7 separate regions of the Homo sapiens genome follow, and all the other regions are linked to region 1. Evidence: promoter capture Hi-C in 16 types of primary human blood cells and fetal thymus (Javierre and others, 2016). All regions are on one chromosome and are shown on one strand. Each heading gives the region's core, a stretch centred on a gene start or on the middle of the fragment in contact. The rest is flanking DNA. Distances are from core to core; before and after follow the strand shown. Region 1 holds the start of RNPC3 (RNA binding region (RNP1, RRM) containing 3). Region 2 has its middle 130 kb from the start of PLPPR5-AS1. Region 3 overlaps FRRS1 (ferric chelate reductase 1). Region 4 has its middle 12 kb from the start of AGL. Region 5 overlaps SLC35A3 (solute carrier family 35 member A3). Region 6 overlaps SLC71A1 (solute carrier family 71 member 1). Region 7 overlaps SASS6 (SAS-6 centriolar assembly protein).

What was found. The method cuts DNA at HindIII sites, captures the fragments that hold promoters and counts their contacts. A CHiCAGO score of 5 or more calls a contact.
Region 2: a contact is called between a fragment that was not itself captured here and the fragment with the promoter of RNPC3 in region 1, in 1 of 17 cell types (total CD4 T cells). The highest score is 8.6, in total CD4 T cells.
Region 3: a fragment that was not itself captured here is called in contact with the fragment with the promoter of RNPC3 in region 1 in 1 of 17 cell types (total CD4 T cells); the score reaches 6.0 in total CD4 T cells.
Region 4: a contact is called between a fragment that was not itself captured here and the fragment with the promoter of RNPC3 in region 1, in 1 of 17 cell types (naive B cells). The highest score is 5.4, in naive B cells.
Region 5: a fragment that was not itself captured here is called in contact with the fragment with the promoter of RNPC3 in region 1 in 1 of 17 cell types (fetal thymus); the score reaches 6.5 in fetal thymus.
Region 6: a fragment that was not itself captured here is called in contact with the fragment with the promoter of RNPC3 in region 1 in 3 of 17 cell types (total CD4 T cells, non-activated CD4 T cells and fetal thymus); the score reaches 8.1 in total CD4 T cells.
Region 7: a fragment that was not itself captured here is called in contact with the fragment with the promoter of RNPC3 in region 1 in 1 of 17 cell types (total CD4 T cells); the score reaches 5.8 in total CD4 T cells.

Annotation. Positions count from the first base shown.
Region 1 is chr1:103,523,980-103,527,140 of GRCh38, forward strand. It overlaps RNPC3 (RNA binding region (RNP1, RRM) containing 3), which reads left to right and starts at 1,720. Exons shown (of 15, transcript NM_017619.4): 1 at 1,720-2,283. The coding sequence starts at 2,092. RNPC3-DT (RNPC3 divergent transcript) reads right to left here and starts at 1,529. Exons shown (of 4, transcript NR_168321.1): 1 at 1,417-1,529. RefSeq lists a silencer at 1,512-1,611 and an enhancer at 1,932-2,171. The HindIII fragment of the contact is 7,657 bases long and covers 1-3,161 here.
Region 2 is chr1:98,868,195-98,871,355 of GRCh38, forward strand. No RefSeq gene overlaps it. Among named protein-coding and RNA genes, the nearest start is that of PLPPR5-AS1, 130 kb to the right of the region's middle. The HindIII fragment of the contact is 1,497 bases long and covers 670-2,166 here.
Region 3 is chr1:99,762,638-99,765,798 of GRCh38, forward strand. All of the region lies in intron 1 of FRRS1 (ferric chelate reductase 1), which reads right to left. Among named protein-coding and RNA genes, the nearest start is that of FRRS1, 2.4 kb to the right of the region's middle. The HindIII fragment of the contact is 1,699 bases long and covers 573-2,271 here.
Region 4 is chr1:99,837,209-99,840,369 of GRCh38, forward strand. No RefSeq gene overlaps it. Among named protein-coding and RNA genes, the nearest start is that of AGL, 12 kb to the right of the region's middle. The HindIII fragment of the contact is 241 bases long and covers 1,422-1,662 here.
Region 5 is chr1:100,025,789-100,028,949 of GRCh38, forward strand. It overlaps SLC35A3 (solute carrier family 35 member A3), which reads left to right. Exons shown (of 8, transcript NM_012243.3): 8 at 1-3,161. The region is part of intron 1 of LOC124904230 (a long non-coding RNA gene); the gene reads right to left. Among named protein-coding and RNA genes, the nearest start is that of SLC71A1, 11 kb to the right of the region's middle. The HindIII fragment of the contact is 3,323 bases long and covers 1-3,161 here.
Region 6 is chr1:100,044,316-100,047,476 of GRCh38, forward strand. All of the region lies in intron 1 of SLC71A1 (solute carrier family 71 member 1), which reads left to right. Among named protein-coding and RNA genes, the nearest start is that of SLC71A1, 7.8 kb to the left of the region's middle. RefSeq lists enhancers at 2,666-2,745, 2,776-2,825. The HindIII fragment of the contact is 4,393 bases long and covers 1-3,161 here.
Region 7 is chr1:100,099,625-100,102,785 of GRCh38, forward strand. All of the region lies in intron 14 of SASS6 (SAS-6 centriolar assembly protein), which reads right to left. Among named protein-coding and RNA genes, the nearest start is that of SASS6, 32 kb to the right of the region's middle. The HindIII fragment of the contact is 4,262 bases long and covers 1-3,161 here.

The DNA of each region.
Region 1 (3,161 bases), core at 470-2,969:
TCTTCTTCTTCCTTGCCTCAACTTCTCAACATCTGCATGTCCCATGACTCCATTATGGGCACAATTCTATCTATACCCTTTGTCATTCTTCAGATATAAATACCATATAGGTTGATGCCATACCTCGTGGTAACCTTTCCCAAGAATGCCAAACACACACATTCAACTTCCTACTTGAAACAGGGATACTGAATAGATACCTTAAACTTAATATATGTTCCTCTATTCCCAATGTCCCACTACAGTTTCTAACCTAGCTATACTTGGTCAATCTTCTCACATTCAGTAAATGGCATCATCATCTACAGATGGATAATATCTAGCTTAAGCCAAAAATCCAGAATTTATCCTTGCTTACTATTCTTCATCTGCAAGTTCCTATCAACTACTTCTAAAACGTATCTCAATTCCAGTTCCTTCTCTACATGTCCACTTTCACCAAACTATTATGGTAGTGTTTTTCTCCAGACTTCTACAGTAGTCCAACTGGTCTTTCTGCTTCTGTTTTTTGCATTGCAACCGGAGAAATTTTCATACCTAAACTTTGATTCTCTCCCCTCAACACACACCTACTTAAAGAATTTGTCAGTTTCTAAATGTTCCTCAAATAAAAAGGGCTCCTAACAAATCTACAGCGTCTACGTGGTCTGGCTCTACCTATCTGATATTTTGGTGGGTGTGTGGGGAAGGTTCTTCTCATGTTTGTCTTCTAGTTTTCATTAATATCTGTCTCTCTCCTTTTCCCCAACCAATGCGGGATGACAGCAGATTGCTGGTATACTGCTTACTGCTGTATCTCTAACATTTATTTAAGTGGCAAAAAGAACTGTAAGAGGAACTCTGGTTCTCCAGACTGTAGCAGCTACATCTAGCATAAAACCTCTCTTTAGAATCCTCAAGGCCCTCTCTGTATGGGGTGAGGGGTACATTCCTGACCCTCCGGGGATGATCCCTGCCTCACTCCATTCAGAATCTAGGCAGAACAGTGGATTAGAATGTAGACCCCCAGTCAGAACACCAAGGGTCAAAACTTAGTTCTTCCACTTTCTAGCTGTGTGATTTAACCTCTTTGTACATCAGTGTCCTCAGCTGTAAAATAGGGAGAAAAGTACCTACACCTACACACACACACACATACACACACACACACACACACACCCCTACACACACACACATACACACACATGCAATAATTTATTTATTAGGTTACCTCTCCCTAGAGGCTGCCATTTCTGCGAAATGAACCCTGGCAGGGGCCTATCCGTCTGCTAAATGCCTACTGATTCAAGAAAAAAGTCTGAACTCTCAACGTTTTGCCCCTTAAACTGAGTTCTCCTCCCTACAATGGTGTCTAATGAGTTGACAGAATAACTGGCTAGCTTTATATTTTACCATCTAAATACTGTAAGAACATACCCGGTATTTCCACACCCAAGTTCTCCTCCTTGCTATTCAGGCCAATTCACTTTCCCAAGGCCAGGGATTAAGAGCCGCACGGTCAGCTCCAGATAGCGCTCGCCGCCGTGCGCCCCGCCCCGCCGTGCGCCCCGCCCCGCCGTGCGCCCCGCCCCGCCGTGCGCCCCGCCCCGCCGTGCGCCCCGCCCCGCCGTGCGCCCCGCCCCGCCGTGCGCCCCGCCCCGCCGTGCGCCCCGCCCCGCCGTGCGCCCCGCCCCGCCGTGCGCCCCGCCCCGCCCTGTGACGGTCCCAGCCCGCACATGCGCAGTCGTGAGTCCTCTTGTCCTTGAGCGTCAACCTTCTTTCCCTGAAGTGGCTGGGGTTCCTGTTTCCTTCTTTGATTGACAACTTGTGTTAACCCTCGCACATCTCTGGGCCAATTTTTGCTTGTAAGTCTTTCCGGAGACCCCTGGAATTTAAATCATTAGCACCGCGCCCTTCCCCGAAGAGTCTTCGAAGGGTTGCCGCTTTTCGGTGGCGCAGTTCTCGCGAGAAGGTGACTTTCTTTCTCGGTATTTCCTGGTTTCCAGAATCCTTAGCGCGAGGCGGAAAAAATATTTCTCCCAGCTTGTGTTGATGCCGCGATTTTGACTGAGACTTCTTCCCACGATTTCTGTTTTTGCTTCTCCAAGGAAAATGGCAGCTCCCGAGCAGCCGCTTGCGATATCAAGGGGATGCACGAGCTCCTCCTCGCTTTCCCCGCCTCGGGGCGACCGAACCCTTCTGGTCAGGCACCTGCCGGCTGAGCTTACTGCTGAGGAGAAAGAGGACTTGCTGAAGTACTTCGGGGCTCAGTCTGTGCGGGTCCTGTCAGATAAGGGGCGACTGGTAAGGGCGCGCCCCTCCGGAGTCTCCCGGGAAGGCATTTGGGAAGTGACCGGGGAGGGGGAGCGCTGACAAGAGTAAAATGGAAACGAGTGGGGAAGATGGACTTGTGTGATGAGAGCTCCCCCATCCTACCTCTTTTTTATCAAAATATCTGCTCTGCGAAGTGGAGTTTTAATCGGCTCGAGTCTGGATTAGTCATAGCACTGCAGAAAAGGGCAAGTGAGAACGACAAAGCAGAAGAATGGAAATTAGCTTAGTTATATTGAGTTTTCGGATCCATCCTGAGAGCCTCACAACTTTTTTGAATTTGGGGTTATTTCTCCTGGACTCAAGAGTATTCTTACAAATGTGCATCAAGGGATTTTTTAAAGTCCTACTTCATTTATAAGCCAATGTTAAATCGTTCATTAAAATAGAGGAGAAGCTACATTGGTGACTTGCGTAAATTAAATGCAGAATTTCAACTAGAAAAAGAGGCTTTTCATAAAAATTTCCCGATGACATCTTTTAGGGAACAATTTTTTAGGGCTGTTAAGAGTACCTGTGTAGGAATTTACACAATTACTTTGTTTTGCTTTATATCCAAAGATATTTTAGATTTCTCTTCATTAAAATAGGAATAGCGATGGTGCAAGACTCAGTGGTTTTAAAGTTTCCCTAGGTGATTTTAATGTTAATGTGCAGCCCAAGTTGAGAGTTACTGAATTAGAAGAAAGACCAATTTTGATCAGTTTAAATGTCACTTATGCCTGCAAATTAAAAAAAAAAAATTATATATGGCTCAATTTAAGTACATCAGGTCATCGTGTATCAGATTAGACAAAATTAGAATGTGCGATATAATTATTAAAGTAACTTTTAATAAGCATTGACCAGAG
Region 2 (3,161 bases), core at 168-2,667, 4.7 Mb before region 1:
TTTCCCAGCTAAAAATATCAGATATGGAATTTGAACTCAATTCTTTTTGTTTTCCAAATCCTACCTCTTAGTCCTTATGCTTTATTACTAAAGAGTCATGAAATTATTTATTTATATGAAAATATTTTAATAAATGCCTCCTATTTTGTAGTTTCAGCACTAGAGTAGTGGTTCTATATAAATGAACACATGGTCCCCATCTACTTTAAGATCCCAAGCAAATATAAGGAAAAATAAAAAATCTAAAAAGATATGTTGAATGCTATCATAAAAGTAAATAGCACAGGTAAGGAAAACAATACTATCTGGAATTGTTGAGGAAATGGTCAAATAGAATTGCTGTTTGGTCAGTGTTCAAAAGATACAATGGGTATGGATAGCTGAAAAGAATAGTGTAAACATGGTAAAGCCAGAGAGGTGTGAAAGCAAGTGGTCTCTGCAGAATTGGGACTAAATATTAGATTGTTTGAGAAAGTGGCAAAAAGCACCATTTTAAATATTTTGTTCTTATAATATCACATGCTTTGATACATAGATGTTATCCTACAGATAAGTAACTATGAATATTATCTGATTATGATAGAAACATAGATTTTAAATAGTTATTTGGGCATATGTTTGAATGACTGGCAAAATGAGCATGAGACTTGTGGTCAGGAAACAATTGAAAGCTTATTGTAATAGAAGAAGAGAAATTAAACTGACAGGAATTAATCAGGGGAAAAGGAAGGGCTGAATTTTAATGAATAATCAATAGTTCAGGTATGGAATATATATCATCCTCTTCAAGTACAATGAATGGGCCAAATTGAACATAGTTTATTACATTACTAGCTATGAAAAACCCTGAAGGGAAAAAGTACCCAACACTTCACATATTAGGTAATTGGGAATCATTATGATTTTATAACATGGCTGGGCCATAGCATTGGCTCAAATGCCAACAAGCTGAAAAGAAGGCAAGAAGGTCTGTAATAAGGAACCAACACAGAAAACTCATATATGTATATAAAATCAGTGTATGACCCAGACGAAAGGCAAGGTCATTCTAATATTCTACAGTATTGCCAATAGCCAGGACTGTCTTAGGCATTTACATGAGCTGGGTGAAACTGCTGTAATCACTATTAAACGAGGGTGCTGCATGATATGTTGCTTGCCCCACACAGTCTGGTAGACTAATGTGTCCTAACACAGCTAGTCAAAGGTCTTAGAGAGCCAAAGTCTGCATATGTCTTGAGAAAAGTAACCAGAGTATCATTATTTTAGAATTGAAAAACAACTGATAGCATGTTGCACTGGATACATAGACCTAACTTGTGTATCCTCAAGTGGTTTATAAAAATCAATCCAACTGAAGACTATAATTTTCTCATACAATCCAGATTTCTGGATTCTCTTGAAATATTAGATGATCCGGTGGTGGAGGGTCTTAATTCTGGTATCACAACAATTGACAGGAGCTACACATAGCAACCTCCACCACTCTGTGTGGGTACATACCCCTCATTCATACAATGAAAAACATTTTCACAAAAAGACCAAGGTATCACTCATTATTGTTATCTTCCTGGTCTTGTAAGCATTTGCTTTCACAGTCTCTGATATAAGGTGCAAGTGAAATCTCAAGTGCCAGAGTAATTCATAGCTGGATCCAATAGAGAAGAAACAACAGGACTCCTAAAGGATGAGTAAAGAAGTTGGAATTGCTTATTTTGAAAGATATAATAAGAAGTTTTGAGAAATATCATCAGCATGAAGGCTGACACCTGGAAAAATCTCAACTGCATTAAATTAAGTAGGCTTTCTGATGAGGTCCTACCTAAGGGAAAATTACCAAGTGGCCAAATTTTACTTAGTGTCTAAAAAGCCGCCTTTCCCTTTGCCCCTTTCTTTCTCTTCAACATTAAGTTATACCATCATATTTTCTGGTCTTTATGTAAAATGTGCATATATTTGTATATAATATATGTATTATACATATACATTGATAAAGTATCTTCTAAAATTTTCTCAGTAGCTAAGAAGAATGGGATTCTATAATTATCTCTGGCTTTAATTATGGGGTACTGTCAAAGGCTTGGGTTTTAGATTCATTTATTCTTTCAACAAATATTTATTTAGTTCCTAAGGATCTAGTCATGGTCAAGGTTCTTTTTTTCTTGAAGCTTAAATTCTAGTAAGGGAACATATGTAATAAATAATAATAATACAAGTAAATATTTCTGCATATTGATAAGAGTTATGAAGAATAAATGAGTTGTTGGGTTGGAGAGTGACCAATGGCTGTAAACAGTGGCCACTTTCTGTGTAGCAAATTTCCCAGTGGGGATATTGTGGTTGGTTTTAAAAATTACTTAAAACGGAGTGCCACCCAGCCACCTAGCTAGGACTTTACTGTTTGACTATTTCATATTCACTATATGTAAGGGTCATCCCAGCAGTTATAATCTGCCATGTGTTGCTATACAAAGATTTACAGGATTCAGCATATTTAACTACCTAATTGGAAGCACTCCTTGCATCTAATGAGCATTTTTTTCTTGACACTTTTTTCCCCACTTATCAGATAAGCCAGCATTTTCTTAAATGTCTAAGGTGTGCTAAGGCCGAAAGGTTATTTTTAAAGCAATGAGTCTATAAATTACTAAGTTTTGTGGTGGAGGAAATAGAAGAAAAAATATATTTTGGAAGGGAATGAAGTATGGTAATCACTCCAAGCAGGCTTAATTATGGAGAAACTAAGAGGTGGGCATGTGGGAGGAGACTTGAAACTTAATTTAGTCTCGTCCATAATTTTGTCTGAGTTCAGCTGTCAATACACTTACGATATCCTGGCTTTGAGGCGCTCTGTCTCTAGGATTAATTTTTTTCCTTCCAGAGAAGACATAATGTCATTAGAGTAAATCATGACTTCTCATATAATTGCTCATCTGCTGATAAGGAAGATAGGTCCACCTGATTCCAGCCTGAGCCAATCGTGCCTTCCCTATCCACTGAGTTGCTGAGTTAAGCCTGATTCTGAAGCTGCATACAGGTGTTATCAGTGCCCTTTGTTCTTGTAATGTCTCAAGAAAGATGACAATAGAAATCAAGAGAGATCACTAGATATAGCAGCATAGAGAAAGAGAAAGCATTATTTTAGCTTGTGCACAAGGAAG
Region 3 (3,161 bases), core at 172-2,671, 3.8 Mb before region 1:
AACAAAAAACTCAATTTGTCTGAAGTGAAATTCATATTTTCCTCCAGACTAGTTTTTGAACCTCACTTTCCTAATCTGATGGTGGTCTGTCAACACATTTCTCATCAGCAGGATTTCAAACCCCGAACTCTCAGGATTGGATTCCAAACACTCTTTTGGTCCCCAACTTCCACACAAGCTCTGCAGATTCTACCTCCACCAATTCTGCACTCTACCTATCCCTCTTGCAACTCTCTTCTACTTTCCATTCTATTACATTTGTCTAGTGTTTTCCTTTCTGCCACCACCTCCAAGCATGAAGACTTCATTACCTTCACTCAGATTAATAAAACACTTTCAACTGGTCTCCCTGTTTCTGTATCTCCTCAACACAGGATTATTTTCCTAAGGTACAATTCTCATTATACCTCTCCTCTCCCCGCAAAACACTCAGCAGCTTCCCAAGAATTATTAGATTAAGAAGCAAAGGCACTCGACATTTAATATTTTATACTTTTCTACACAACCAAAATTTCAAGAATTTTTTTTCCCTATACTGTAATAACAATGTGCCATCTGCTATTCCAGGAATAAGCTTCTTTTTCTCCTGAAGTTTTGCCTTCTAAATGGGACCCCTATTTTTCCCCTAAATGGGACCCCCTATTTTTATATGGACAGGAATTTGGTTAAATTCCTGTCCATATAAAAATAAATGTTACACTGAAAAATAAGATACAATAATCTCTGTACACTATGCTCAAACTAGGTAGAACTGTGTATTCCCCATTATTTCATGTAATATGCAAAAGAGTAATAATATCTGATATAAGCAAGGATGTGAAGAAACGAGCACTCTCATACACAGGGACAATGGTAAACTGTCACATTTTTAGATGTTAACAATATCTTAGTAAATTAAAAATGTTTATCCTCTGACCTGGAAATTTCATTTCTAGAAATGTATCTTACAGTTCGGGCGCAGTGGCTGACACCTGTAATCCCAGCACTTTGGGAGGCCCAGGCGGGCAGATCACCTAAGGTTAGAAGTTCGAGACCAGCCTGACCAACATGGAGAAACCCCTTCTCTACTAAAAATACAAAAGTAGCCGGGCTTGGGGGTGCATGCCTGTAATCCCAGCTACTCGGGAGGCTGAGGCAGAAGAATCGCTTGAACCCTGGAGGCAGAGGTTGAGGTGAGCCGAGATGGCACCATTGCACTCCAGCCTGGGCAACAAGAGTGAAACTCTGTCTCAAAAAAAAAAAAAAAAGAATGAAAAGAAAAGAAATATATCTTACAGAAAAACCCATACAGTTAAGCAAGGATTATTTCCAGTAGCAAAAATGTTGGATAATTTAAGTGGTTACAAAAATAAACTACGCTATACCCAAACTATATAATACTTGCTAAACGTTAACAAAATGAAATAGAGTAAACAGATAACAAATACATCAGCTAATAATTATTGAGTGCATTCTAGGAGGTAGGCATTGTTTTAAGTACTTTGCAAGTATGAACTCATTTCACAAAAATCCCAAGACATGAATCTGCATGTTAAGAAGATACATGCTCATGCTCCACTGAGGAATCAAAACAAGAAAACTGCAAAATGATATGGAATGTACCAAAATATACATAACTTAAAAGGAAAAGAAAAAAACCTTTATACATGCTTCCAATTGTTCTCAACAGTGTTTACCCCTTAGGAAGGTATGTGTTTTCAGGATGGGAAGAGTGGGCTTCCTTTCTTTAATGCCCTTTATAATGTGCATTTTTTTTAAAGCATGTAGTGTTTTATAATTTCAAAAAACACTACAAAGTATGTACATGTAAGACTGTACAGAAACTGATTTGAAGGTGGTTAGATATTTTCTTTTTTCTATTTTCAAACATTCTATGTTACTTTTACTATTTTTGTTTGTTTTGATAAAGAAGACCTTCACCCCTCTTTCAAGATCCATTTAAAACGCCGTCAACTACTGTCCTATGATACAATGAAGTGTATGGACTTTGAAATATCACAGACCTAGGTTTGAATCTGTCCATTAATGTAATCCAGCAGGCACCACCATAGTGACCCTGGACAAATTATTTAACCTTACTGAGTCTTAGTTTTCTCACTTGTTAGAGACAATGCCACCAATATCAATGGCTTGCATGAGGATTAAATAAAATACTATCTCCAAAATATCTAGCACAATGACCACCATTAACAAAGTCTCCCATATAAAACTGTCTTCCTTTCTTGGATTCTTGCCTAATTCCACCAACCTGAAATAACTGTTCACTCCATAAGCTTTAGTTTTTCCTAATAAATTTTATCATGTTTTTCTGCCACATTTGGTGACTTGTCTTTTGGTAAACCTCTGGATATCAGTAAAGGTGTCCTACACATTGATCTCCATTCATTCTGACTAGCAGACAACCTTCAAAACAGTACTCATACAGTGTGATTGTTATGTGAATTTTGAGAAAATCCAATATTAAAAAAGCTGACAGGTGTGAAACAGAGAGTACACTTCACCAAAAAAATCAACATACTGGCTAACTAAATGACGAACTAAAACTCACTTCTCCAACCTAACAAAACCATCTCTTAAAAGGTCTTTGTTTTCAATAAGCTGATAGATCAAATTAAGCCCCCAACTTCAGTTCTATCCCAGTATAATACTCAAATCTTACCACTTTTTTAAAAATACAGAAGTGGCTGGGCGCGGTGGCTCACGCCTGTAATCCCAGCACTTTGGGAGGCCGAGGCAGGCAGATGACCTGACGCTGGGAGTTCGAAACCAGACTGACCAACATGGAGAAACCCCGTTTCTACTAAAAATACAAAATTAGCCGGGTGTGGTGGTGCCTGCCTGTAATCCCAGCTACTCAGGAGGCTGAGGCAGGAGAATTGCTTGAACCCGGGAGGCAGAGGTTGCAGTGAGCCGAAATCCCGCCGTTGCACTCCAGCCTGGGCCACAAGAGCAACACTCCGTCTCGAAAATAATAAATAAATAGGCCAGACGCGGTGGCTCAAGCCTGTAATCCCAGCACTTTGGGAGGCGGAGGCGGGCATATCACGAGGTCAGGAGATAGAGACCATCCTTGCCAACACAGTGAAACCCCGTCTCTACTAAAAATACAAAAAATTAGCCGGGCGTGGTGGCGGGCGCCTGTAATCCCAGCAGTATACTCA
Region 4 (3,161 bases), core at 292-2,791, 3.7 Mb before region 1:
CATGTACCCTCAGACAATCTATCAACTTAACTCTTAAGAAGTGGATTGGCCGGGCGCAGTGGCTCACGCCTGTAATCCCAGCACTCTGGGAGGCCGAGGCGGGCGGATCACCTGAGGTCAGGAGTTCGAGACCAGCCTCAACATGGAGAAACCCCGTCTCTACTAAAAATACAAAATTAGCCGGGCATGGTGGTGCATGCCTGTAATCCCAGCTACTCGGGAGGCTGAGGCAGGAGAATTGCTTGAACCTGGGAGGCGGAAGTTGCGGTGAGCCAAGATCGCGCCATTGCACTCCAGCCTGGGCAACAAGAGCGAAACTCCGTCTCAAAAAAAAAAAAAAGAAGAAGAAGTGGATAATACATGAGTCTATATAGCTTTGGAAAAAGAAAGCAATCAATTATGACATGGAGTACATGAGAGAGTACAGTCCTTTCTTAATACCAAACTCTAAACCTTTCAATTCAACAATAGTTTGTCAAATGTCATAACTGCTCACTTTTGCACTATTTGTAGAACTTGAATGTTTTCATATTTATACTTCACAGTAAATTAACTATATGGAAGTTACTGATTTTGATGTATTCTCTCTTGGGGAAAGGACAGGGAAGAAAGGGCAAGAGACACACTGTTCTTGGATTCCTTCTCAAGATGTTATTGAGTGTTTTCTATACAACAGGCAATGTTTTAGGTGCTGGGGATTCCGGAGAAAAGATATTTTCTCCTCTCAATAAGCTCACCCTCTAGTAGGACAGACATTTAATTGTTAGGTCAGGATACCTGATGCATTCTTAGGAATTTTGCCACTCTGAGAGCTTTGTTTTGACAGGTTTGTTTTCCACCCTTCTGAGCTGGGCAAAGGACACACAAAATCAGCTGTCAAATCAATTCCTATTCAAAACTGAGGAAAAAAAAAAAACTAACCAAAGTTAAAGCTTTTGAAAAGACAGTAAATGCATCATGGTTAGCACTATGCTAACCATAAATTTACCATGCTGCTATAAGATATAGCAAAATCAAGCCCTTTCCTGTGATACTTCAAAAAGGAAAAGAAAATATGTATTCTTTAAAAAATAAAGAGGCCAGGCACTGTAGCTCACACCTGTATTCCCAGCACTTTGGGAGGCCGAGGCAGGCGGATCATTTGAGGTCAGGAGTTCAAGACCAACCTGGCCAACATGGTGAAACCCTGTCTCTACTAAAAATACAAAAATTAGCCAGGTGTGGTGGCACACACCTGTAGTCCCAGCTACTTAGGAGGCTGAGGCAGGAGAATCACTTGAACCCGGGAGGCAGAGGTCGCAGTGAGCCAAGATCACGCCACTGCACTCCAGCCTGGGCAACAGAGTGAGAACTCTGTCTCAAAAAAAAAAAAAAAAAATTAAACATAAAAAATAAAGAATCATCTCAATTGATGCAGAAAAAGCTTTTGACAAAATTCAACATCATTTCATGATACAAACACTCAGCAAACTAGAAGAAAACTACCTCAACCTAATAAAAGCCATATGTAAAAAAATCTACAGCAAACATCATACTCAACAGTGAAAGACTGAAAACTTTTCTTCTAAGGTCAGGAACAAAGCAAGGATAACCACTTCCACCACTTCTATTCAACATATTGAAAGTCCTAGACAGAACAATTGATCAAGACAAATAAATGAAAGCTTCATCCAAATTGAAAAGGAACAAGTAAAATTATCTCTGTTCACAGATGTGATATGTAGGAAACTAAGATACCACACACACACACACACACACACACACACACACACACAGTTAGAATAAATGAATTCAGCAAAGCAGCAGGATACAAAGTCAATGCACAGAAATCAATTGCATTTTGATACACTAACAATGAGTAATCTGAAAGGAAATTAAGAAAACAATTCTATTTAAAATAGCATTTAAAAACTTAGGAATTCACAAACCAAAAGGAGACCTGTACACTGAAAACTATAAAACATTGCTAAAAGAAATTAAGAAAGACATAAATAAATGGAAAACCATCCCATGGTTCATGGATTAGAAGATTAATATTGTCAAAATGTCAGTACTACCCAAAGTGATCTACAGATTGACTTTTTTTTTACAGAAATAGAAAAATTAGTTTTAATATTCATGTGGAATCTTAAGGGACCCTGAACAGCTAAAACAATCTTGAAAAAGAAGAACAACATTGGAGGACTCACATTTCCTGATTTTAAAACTTACTACAAAACTTTGGTAATTGAAACAGTGTGGTACTGGCATAAAGACAGATATATAGATAGACAAATGAAATAGAATAGAGAGCCCAGAAATAAACCCCAGTATATATAGTCAAATGTTTTCCAACAACAGTACTAAGACCATTCAGTGGGGAAAGGACAGTCTTTTCAACAAATAGTGCTGGGAAAACTGAATAGCCACATGCAAAATAATGAAAATGGACTGTTAACCTAACCCCATATACAAAAATTAATTCAAAATGAATCATAGACCTAACAAAAGAGCTAAAACTATATAATTCTTAGAAGAAAATATAGGGCAAAACTTCATGATATTGAATTTGGCAATGAATATGACACCAAAGACACAGGCAAAAAGCAAATAGATTAATTGGATTTCATTAAAATGTAAAACTTTTGTGCTTCAAAGGACACTATCAATAGCATGAAAAGACAGCCTACAGAATGGGGGAAAATATTTTAAAATCATACATCTGATAAGGGATTAATATCTAGAATATGTAATGAACTAATCTAAAACTCAACAACAACAACAAAAATTCAAAAGTAGGCAGAGGACTTAAATAGACATGTCTCCAAAAGATTTACAAATGGCCAGTAAGCACATAAAAAAATGTTCAACATCACTACCCATTAGGGAAATGAAAATCAAAAACACATTGAGATACCATCTCACATCTACCAGGATGGCTACTATAAAAAAAACAAAAAATAGAAAATAAGTGTTGGTAAGGATGTGGAGAAACTGAAATCTTTGTGCACTGTTGATGGGAAGATAAAATGTTACAGCCACTGTTGAACACATTATGGTGGTTACTCAAAAAGTTAAAAATAGAATTACTATATGATCCAGCAATTCTACTACTGGGCATGTACTCAAAAGAATTGAAAGTATGATCTCAAAGAGATCATTGTATACCCACTGATATGGTT
Region 5 (3,161 bases), core at 360-2,859, 3.5 Mb before region 1:
GTTATCACGCAACTACTTTGTTCAATGTGAAAATGTGCTAACTCATGGGAGAAGAGTGCCAATTGATAGTTCTTTTAGCAATTAAGAATATGGTATTTGGGAAGAAAAGTTTGAAATGCAACAAATGGATATTTCAACACAGTAGTATTATATTATCAGTTCTTTAGTAAGTGATTTTAGAGATGTTGTAGGCTACTTTTACGGTGGAATATATAGTATAGAGATGCAAAACTTAAATGTTTACATCAATTTATATTGAATGTCACATAATTTCATGGAAGGAAAGGTAGCTTGATATTTAGATTCTAAGATATAATCTGAAAGGAAACTAATTATGTTCTCTACACTTACTGTAATACTGATTATTCTTACATATCAAATTATTGAACTTTAAAAATTTCATTGTATAGTCATTAAACTGAGTTGGGTTTTTTCTTAAAGGGTTTAGCATCACTCATTTGATTTACACATTCACATTATAATATTTAATTATCATGGGTGTATGCTTTACATAAAAAAGGTTTATAAAAGTTATTTATGCTATATTGAAAGTCATCTTAAGAATCTCCAGGTTATTTAAAGTAGTTATAGGAGCAGAGAACAAGCACCTTTATCAAAATCTGGTCCTATGTGCCTTGCTTTACCAAATACCTGATTTTTCTGGAGGGTGTTCCTGTAATTCACAACTGTAGACACATGGGCAAAATTAGGATTTTTAAGAATAAATACATTTCTATTTTTTTGGTTGTTTCAACATTAGCTCTTCAAATTCATTAACAAAATTAAAATAGGTATATTACAAAAGCATAAACATTTGTGAACAGTACTTAAATAAATTGTGATACTATTGCTCCATCATTGAACTTTTTGAAACTTTAACAATTGTATAAAACTGTCAGTTTGTTGTTTCATTTGTAATTACAAAATAATTTAAAAACTTTTTAAAATAATTTGGATCCTGACTTTGTCTATATCTGTATTTCATTTGTTTAGAAAGATTCTTTTGGGTTTGATAATGTAATTTGTATATTTAAATTTTTTATGGACATAATTCAAAGGAATGTATAAATTGGTCTTTTGTTAAATGGCTTTTTAATTGATAAACTTCTCTTGTCATTTTTTGGTATCCAGCTATTACCTATTTAATAGATTTATTGAAATAGATTATTTTCATAAAGAACTCTATACAAATCTTTTTCTATATTTCCTTATTTTCCTATTTACCTGTGTCTATGACCTAACCTATGAATTAGTCTTCTCTCTTTATATATCAAAAATGAATTACTGATCTTTTTCTCTGGCTCTGTAGTATCTCTATCACTGTCACATGTGATCTTTCTTCCTTTTCTCTAGCCCATATTCTAGCATGAAATACTGGGTTGGCCAGGTGCAGTGGCTCATTCCTGTAATCCCAACACTTTAGGAAGCCAAGGCAGAAGAATCGCTTGAGCCCATGAATTTGAGGCCAGCCTGGGCAACATAGCCTTGTTTCTACAAAAAATCTTAAAAATAAAATTAGCCAATATGTGGGCATGCACCTGTGGGGCCAGCTACTCAGGAGGCTGAGGCAGAAGGATTGCTTGAGCCCAGCAATTTGATGCTGCAGTAAACCATGATGACACTACTGGACTCTAGCCTGAGTGACAGTGAGACTCTGTCTCAAAAAACAAACAAAACAAAAACTGAAACAACAAAAAAAGACTGGGTTTATTTAAGCTAGTTAGAATTTATCTTTCTATATGTTAATAACAGCCTAACAGATTTTTTGTTTTAAATATCTCTAGGCTAGCCTCAAGGTTAAGTAATTATAGAAGTTTGGTATGTATTTTCTTCATAATTTGAATATAATTGCTTCCATTGTGACTGTCAATTGAATGCATGGAGATCAATTGTGATAATATACAGGATTTTAGTCCTATCTCTACTGCTGAAGTAACCTTACACAAAATACTTTGTAAAAAAATCACTAAAGTGCCAGCATTTTTAAAGTGTATATTTTTCTTTGGCAACCTCTCATGAAAAGCACTAACTAAAAATATTTAATAATCTTTTTTGTATTACAGTGCTTCTTTTGTTGGAAATATATCACAATCCTCAAGTTCCACTGCTATGCAAAAGTATCTTAGAATCTGAATCTTATAGATAATACTACCTTTTTTTTTTTTTTTTTTTTTTTTTTGAGATGGTGTCTCGCTCTGTCACCTAGGCTGCAGTGGTGTGACCTCACTGCAACCTCTGCCTCCCAGGTTCAAGCAATTCTCCTGCCTCAGCCTCCCTAGTAACTGGGATTACAGGCCATGCCACCACGCCCAACTAATTTTTGTATTTTTAGTAGAGACAGGGTTTCACCATGTTGGCCAGGCTGGTCTCAAACTCCTGACCTCAGGTGATCCGCCTGCCTCGGCCTCCCAAAGTGCTGGGTTTACAGGCGTGAGCCGCTGCGCCCGGCCAATACTGCCTTTCAAAAGAGACTGATAGTGACCAGCATTAGTAATCATACTGGTGGGGTTTTTTGGGGTGTTTTTCTGTTTTGTTTTTTGTTTTTTGTTTTTGAGACAAGGTCTTCCTCCCGTTGCCTAGGCTGGAGTGCGGTGACACAATCTTGGCTCACTGCAGCCTTGATAGAGCAAGCTCAAGTGATCCTCCCAGGAGCCTCGGCCCCCAAGCAGCTGGGAATACAGGTGCGCGCCACCATGCCCAGCTGATTTTTGTATTTTTTTGTAGAGATGGGGTTTTGCCATGTTGCCCGGATTGGTCTCAAACTCCTGAGCTTCAGTGATCTGCCTGCCTTGGCCTCCCAAAGTGTTGGGATTACAGGCGTGAGCGACCACACCCAGCCCATATTGGTCTTTCTTACTGTTCTTAAAAAGAGAATTCCTTTAAGGCAGGACCGATTACATATACACTCTAGAAAAGAAAATAGCAAGGAAGAAATAAATTGCCTTCAATTACCAAAGATTTGAGCTTCTGCTATGGCTGAGAGTGTTTTGGTCATTGCAAATTCAGGGGTTTCCCAAGTTCACCCTCAGTTCTGGCTAGAAAGAGAAAACTTACTAAAAGCTATTATACTCACAGTCATATTTATTACAGAGAAAGGAAATACAAATTAAAACCAGCCAAAGGAAGTGACACATAAAACAGAGTCTAGGAGTGGTCCAAAC
Region 6 (3,161 bases), core at 346-2,845, 3.5 Mb before region 1:
TTTCATATGTTTGTTGGCTTATTGTATGCCTTTTGAAAAATGTCTATTCATGTCTTTTGCCTACTTTTGATGGGATTGTTTGTTTTTTTTCTTGCTGATTTGAGTTCCTTGTAGATTCTGGGTACTAGTCCTTTGTCAGATGCACAGTTCATAAATATTTTCTCCAACTGTATGGGTTGTCTGTTTACTCTGCTGATTTTTTTTTTTTTTTTTTTTTGAGATGGAATTTTGCTCTTGTTTCCCAGGCTGGAGTGCAATGGCATGATCTTGGCTCCCTGCAACCTCTGCCTCTCAGGTTCAAGCCATTCTCCTGCCTCAGCCTCCCAAGTAGCTGGGATTACAGGCACACACCACCATGCCTGGCTAACTTTTTTGTATTTTTAGTAGAGACGAGTTTTCTCTATGTTGGCCAGGCTGGACTCAAACTACTGACCTTAGGTGATCCACCCGCCTTGGCCTCCCAAGATGCTGGGATTACAGGCATGCCTAGGCGGCTATAAGTATTTTGCTTTATTTCTGGGTTATCTGTTGTGTTCCATTGGTCTTCATGCCTATTTTTATACCAGTACCATGCGGTTTTGGTAACTGTAGCCTTTTGTATAATTTAAAGTCGGGTAATGTGATGCCTCCAGATTTGTTTTTTGCTTAGTCTTGCTTTGGCTATGTGGGCTCTTTTTTGGTTCCATATGAATTTTAGGATTGTTTTTTCTTGTTCTGTGAAGTATGATGCTGGTATTTTGATGGGAATTGCATTGAATCTATAGATTGTTTTGGTCAGTATAGTCATTTTCACAATGTTGATTCTTCCCTTCCATGAACATGGGATGTGTTTCCCTTTGTGTCATTTATGATTTCTTTTAACAGTGTTTTGTACTTTTCCTTGTAAAGATCTTTCACTTCCTTGGTTAAGTGTATTCCTAGGTGTTTTGTTTTTTTTGCAGCTATTGTAAAAGGGATTGAGTTCTTGATTTGATTCTCAGCTTTGTCGTTGCTGGAATATAGCAGTGCTATTGATTTGTGTCATTGATTTTGTATCCTGAGACTTTACTGAATCGTTTATCAGATCTCGGAGCTTTTTGGATGCGTCATTAGGGTTTTCTAGGTATACAGTCATATCATTGGCAAACAGTGGCAGTTTGATTTCCTCTTTTCCAATTTGCATGCTCGTTATTCCTTTCTCTTGTCTGATTACTCTGGTTAGGACTTCTAAATTTTTTAATTACTATGGGTACAAAGTAGATACAGATATTTATCAGGTACATCTGATATTTTGATACAAGCATATGTTGATACAGGTATACAGTGTATAATAAATCAGGGATACTGGGGTATCCATTACCTCAAACTTTTATCATTTCTTTGTGTTAGGAACATGCCAATTCCACTTTTATTTTATTTTATTTTTTATTTTTTGAGACAGAGTCTCGCTCTGTCGCCCAGGCGACATACATAGTACAGTAGTGTACTCCAGCCTGGGTGACGGGGAGACTCTGTCTCAAAATAAATAAATAAATAAATAAATCTGTTCAGACTAATGTCCTAGAGTGTATTCCCAATGTTTTCTTCTAGTCGTTTGTGGTTTCAGGTTTTAGATTTAAGTCTTTAATCCATTTTGATTTGATTGTTGTACATGGCAAGAGGTAGGGGTATAATTTTATTCTTCTGTATATGGATATCCACTTTTCCTAGCACCATTTAGGAGACTATCCTTTTCCCAATGTATACTTCGGTGCCGTTGTCAAAAATGAGTTGACTGTAAATGCATGGATTTATTTCTGGGTTCTCTATTGTGCTCTATTGTCTATGTATCTGTTTTTATACCAGTATTATGCTGTTTTGGTTACTATCACTTTGTAGTATAATTTGAAGTGAAGTAATGTGATTCCTCCAAGCCTCGTTTTTTTTTTTTTTTTTTTTTTTTTTTTTTTTGAGACAGAGTCTAGCTCTGTCGCCTAGGCTGGAGTGCAGTGGCGCAATCTTGGCTCACTGCAACCTCTGCCTCCCTGGTTCAAGTGATTCTCCTGCCTCAGTTTCCCGAGGAACTGGGATTACAGGTCCCACCACCACGCCTGGCTAATTTTTGTATTTTTAGTAGAGACGGGGTTTCACTTTGATGGCCAGGCTGGTCTTGAACTCCTGACCTCAGGTGATCCGCCCGCCTTGGCCTCCCAAAGTGCTGGGATTACAGGCGTGAGTCACTGTGCCCAGCCTCCAGCCTTGTTCTTTTTGCTCAGGATTGCTTTGGCTGTTCTGGCTCTTGTGGTTCCATATAAGTTTTAGGATTTAAAAGAAAAAATTCTGTGAGGAATGTCATTTGTAGTTTGATAGTAACTGCATTGAATCTGTAGATTGCTTTTGGTAGTATTAAAATTTTAACAGTATTGATTCTTCCAATTTATGAACATGAAATATCTTCCCATTTGTGTGTGTGTCCTCTTCAATTCGTGTCATCAATGTTTTGTAGTCTGTAGACATCTTTCACTTCTTTAAGTTTATTCTTAGGTATTACATCTGTAGCTATTGTAAGTGGGATTATTTTCTTGGTTTCTTTTTCAGATATTTGCTGTTGGCATATAGAAATGGTACTGATTTTTGTATCCTGCAACTTCAGTGAATTTGCTTCCATTCTGATAGTTTTTTGGTGGAGTATTTAGGGTTCTCTCTATATAAGGTCATGTCATCTGTAAAGAGGGACAGTTTTGACTTCCTGTTTTCTAATTTGCATGCCTTTTATTTCTTACTCATGCTTAATTGCTCTAGTTGGTACTTTCCAGTACTTTGTTGAATAAGAGTGGCGAAAGTGGGCATCTTTGTCTTGTTCCAGATCTTTGAGGAAAGGCTTTCAGGTTTTCCCTGTTCAGCATGATAGCTCTGTGTCTGTCATATATGGCTTTTATCATATTGAGGTATGTTCCTTCTATACCATTTTTGAGAGTTTTTATGAAGCAGTGTTGAATTTTAGTAAATGCTTTTTCATCATTAATTGAAATGATCATTTTATTTTCCTTCATTCTTTTGAAATGATGTATCACCTTGATAGATTTATGTATGTTGGACTATCCTTTCATACCTGGATGAATCCCACTTGAACATGATGAATGATTTTTTTGTTTTTAATTTTTTTGAGACGGAGTTTTGCTCTTGTTGCCCAGGCTGGAATG
Region 7 (3,161 bases), core at 295-2,794, 3.4 Mb before region 1:
CTGATAAACTGAGTCACATTTCCATTCTGTTGCAGACTCAATGAAAAAGGACAGCTGTTTCTCCTCGGTTCAAGGGTTAGAATGAAAAGCTGGAGCTCACTCAAAATAATGCTGTGTATTACTGTGTCTCCTCTCCACTCCACTACTATTTTGTAGTTCATGACCATTGTGTACGGCATTTCCAGACTTTGTTTTTTGGTCCTTAACAGTAAACAGAATTGTCTCCCTAAGCCTTTCAACCAGATTAAAAGAAAAAAGATAAATCAATCATCTGGCCCGTTCCTCACTGCAGAAAATCCCTCACATACTTCATAATCTCCTTGATGAAAGTTTGACCTTGAAGATCAAGAATGTAACCCAAGCCAGGCACAGAGGCTCATGCCTGTAATCCCACCACTTGGGAGGCCGAGGCAGGTGGATCACTTGAGGTCAGGAGTTAGAGATCAGCCTGACCAACATGGTGAAACCCCGTCTCTACTAAAAATACAAAAATTAGCCAGGTGTGGTGCTGCACACCTGTAATCTCAGCTACTCGGGAGGCTGAGGCATGAGAATCGCTTGAACCTGGGAGGTGGAGGTTGCAGTGAGCTAAGATCATGCCACTGCACTCTAGCCTTGGTGACAGAGTGAGACTCTGTCACAAAAATAAATGAATAAATGAATGAATGAATAAACAGTTTAGTTTGAAAGACATTACAATTTACTATCTACTGGTGTTTCACCACAAAATGTAAGCACCATAGTGTCAGGGCATTTGTCTTGTTCACTGCTGTCATCTCCTGCAACTAAAACTATGCCTGGCCACAGCAGATAACAGACATTCATTAAATACTTGTTCAATGAATGAATCTTTGGCTATCATTGTATCCAAAAATAAAAGAGAAAAAACACGTAGTTTTGTGTATCTTGCTTTAAAATTATCAAGTATTTGTTCTATTTGTCAGAACAGCACAATCTTGTTAAATATTCTCACATATTCTTTCAGCATTATTTTGTTTCTTGCCAAATTTCTCATGTTATTTTACATTCCCACAGTTAAACATCCTTGAATGTATTCAATCTTGACAGTAACATTTTAAGACATCAGGAAGATCACAGGTTCAACGTCAAAAATAAAAGCGTCATTTTTAAAAACTGTAATTCAAAAGTACATGTTTTAATCAACATAGCTGCTAGCACAAAACTACCTAGATCAATGATCACCAAAGTAGGTGGTATTTGGTGCTTTAAAGTGGGTCTTTGAGTCGGGGAGGACAAAGTAGGCAGTAATTAGGACCATTCACTGAGGTCTGAGAAGAAAATCTTACAACTTTCATTTACATCCATTTTTAGTCTGATTCTTTAATTTCTATTTTTGAATATATTTTATTATTAATAATATAACATTTACAGAGCACTTATCATGAACCAGGTACTATTCTAAGCAAATGCATTAATTCACTTAACTCAATAATCCAGTAAGGTAGAGAAAATTATCACTCCATTTTATAAGTGGGAAAACTGAAGTGTAAGAGTTGAATGTTGTTTGTTTTTCAGTGGCTTGATCAACTTCAGGTTGATAGAGGCAGGTTTTAAATCCTAACATCAGATTCCGCCTTCTTAACCAATAATTATACGGCATATAGTATTTCAGTAGTATATGCATAAATTCACAAATAAATACACATTAATGTATTTGAGATGAGAGCGCAAATTGTTCTGTTTTAGGGTTTTTTTTTTTCCCTGTTAGGGATACATAATTAAAAGAATATGGAGATCACCGATACAGGAAACACTGAAAGTCTTGCTCCTGTATTTAAGAACATAATTATTATAATGATTCCTCTGATTCCACAAGACCTATAAGAATGATAGTATTATTTTATAAGCCATCTTTAGTCCTACCAAGTAGGCAACTGTCTCTAGTAGTACTTGTCCTCATTTTGGACATTATATATATATTCCTGGAAAGTTGTTTAAATAAAAAACAACTGTGAATTCACTTATAATTCTAAAGAAAAAAAATGATCCCAAGATACAACGACACTTGAGTATACTGAAACTGATAATAAAACAATAGACATTCCTTCGAATGCACATATCTAATTCTCCTTAATAAGCAATGCAAGAAGAGCCAGTTATATGCATCTAAGTACTCTTTACATAACAGTATTCCAGGCATAAAAACTCAGGCTTAATTTTCATTTAACTGAGAATTCTCCATAGCTACTGGCAATAATAAGGCTATGGCTAAAAAGAGCACATGCCTAAGCAACACAGCCAACTTATTTTTAGAGTAGCCCAGACCTAATTTGATAGAGTTTGTAATACCAGTTTCAAAGTCCTCAATTTTATCTTTTATACAATATTTTTTCATAAATGTTTATTTGTCTCATTATTTAAGAAAAAATAAACCTGGATCTGAAGTTAGCAATGAAAATAAAAGCAGTGACTGGTCTGGGTGGATTAAACTATTGTGAAAACAAAATTATAATACATAAAAAATACATAAATCTAAGATAATAATAAAAATGAGGAAAAAGAAGTAGGTAGAAGAAAGCCTTAACAAATATATCAAGGGTTGGGGGGATTGCTAGTCATATCTTATCTGAGATAATGCTGTCAGAACTAAATTTTAGAATTTGATTTAAGCCTGCCCTACCAGACCTTTAAATTCTAGCAATGGACTCCAAATCATAGCTCAGACTCCAACAGTATGAAGTCAGAAATCCTAGCCAGGCCTGAGAGCGTAGGAGACACAAGTAGAAGAATGAATAAAAACGGAAAGGCTGGCCGGGCGTGGTGGCTCAGGCCTGCAATCCCAGCACCTTGGGAGGCCAAGGCAGGCGGATCACTTGAGGCCAGGAGTTCGAGACCAGCCTGGCCAACATGGCGAAACCTCACCTCTACTAAAATTGCAAAAAAATTAGCTGGGTGTAGTGGCACATGCCTGTAATCCCAGCTACTCAGGAGGCTGAGGCACGAGAATCACTGAACCCAGGAGGCAGAGGCTGCAGTGAGCTGAGATTACACCACTGCACTCCAGCCTGGACAACCGAGCAAGACTGTCTCAAAAAAAAAAAAAAAAAAAGGAGAGGTTGAGTAGAAATAAGTGAGGTTTAAACAGACTGATGTCAAGATTTTAGAAATTACAGTGACTCAAGAAATATATAGTGCATATA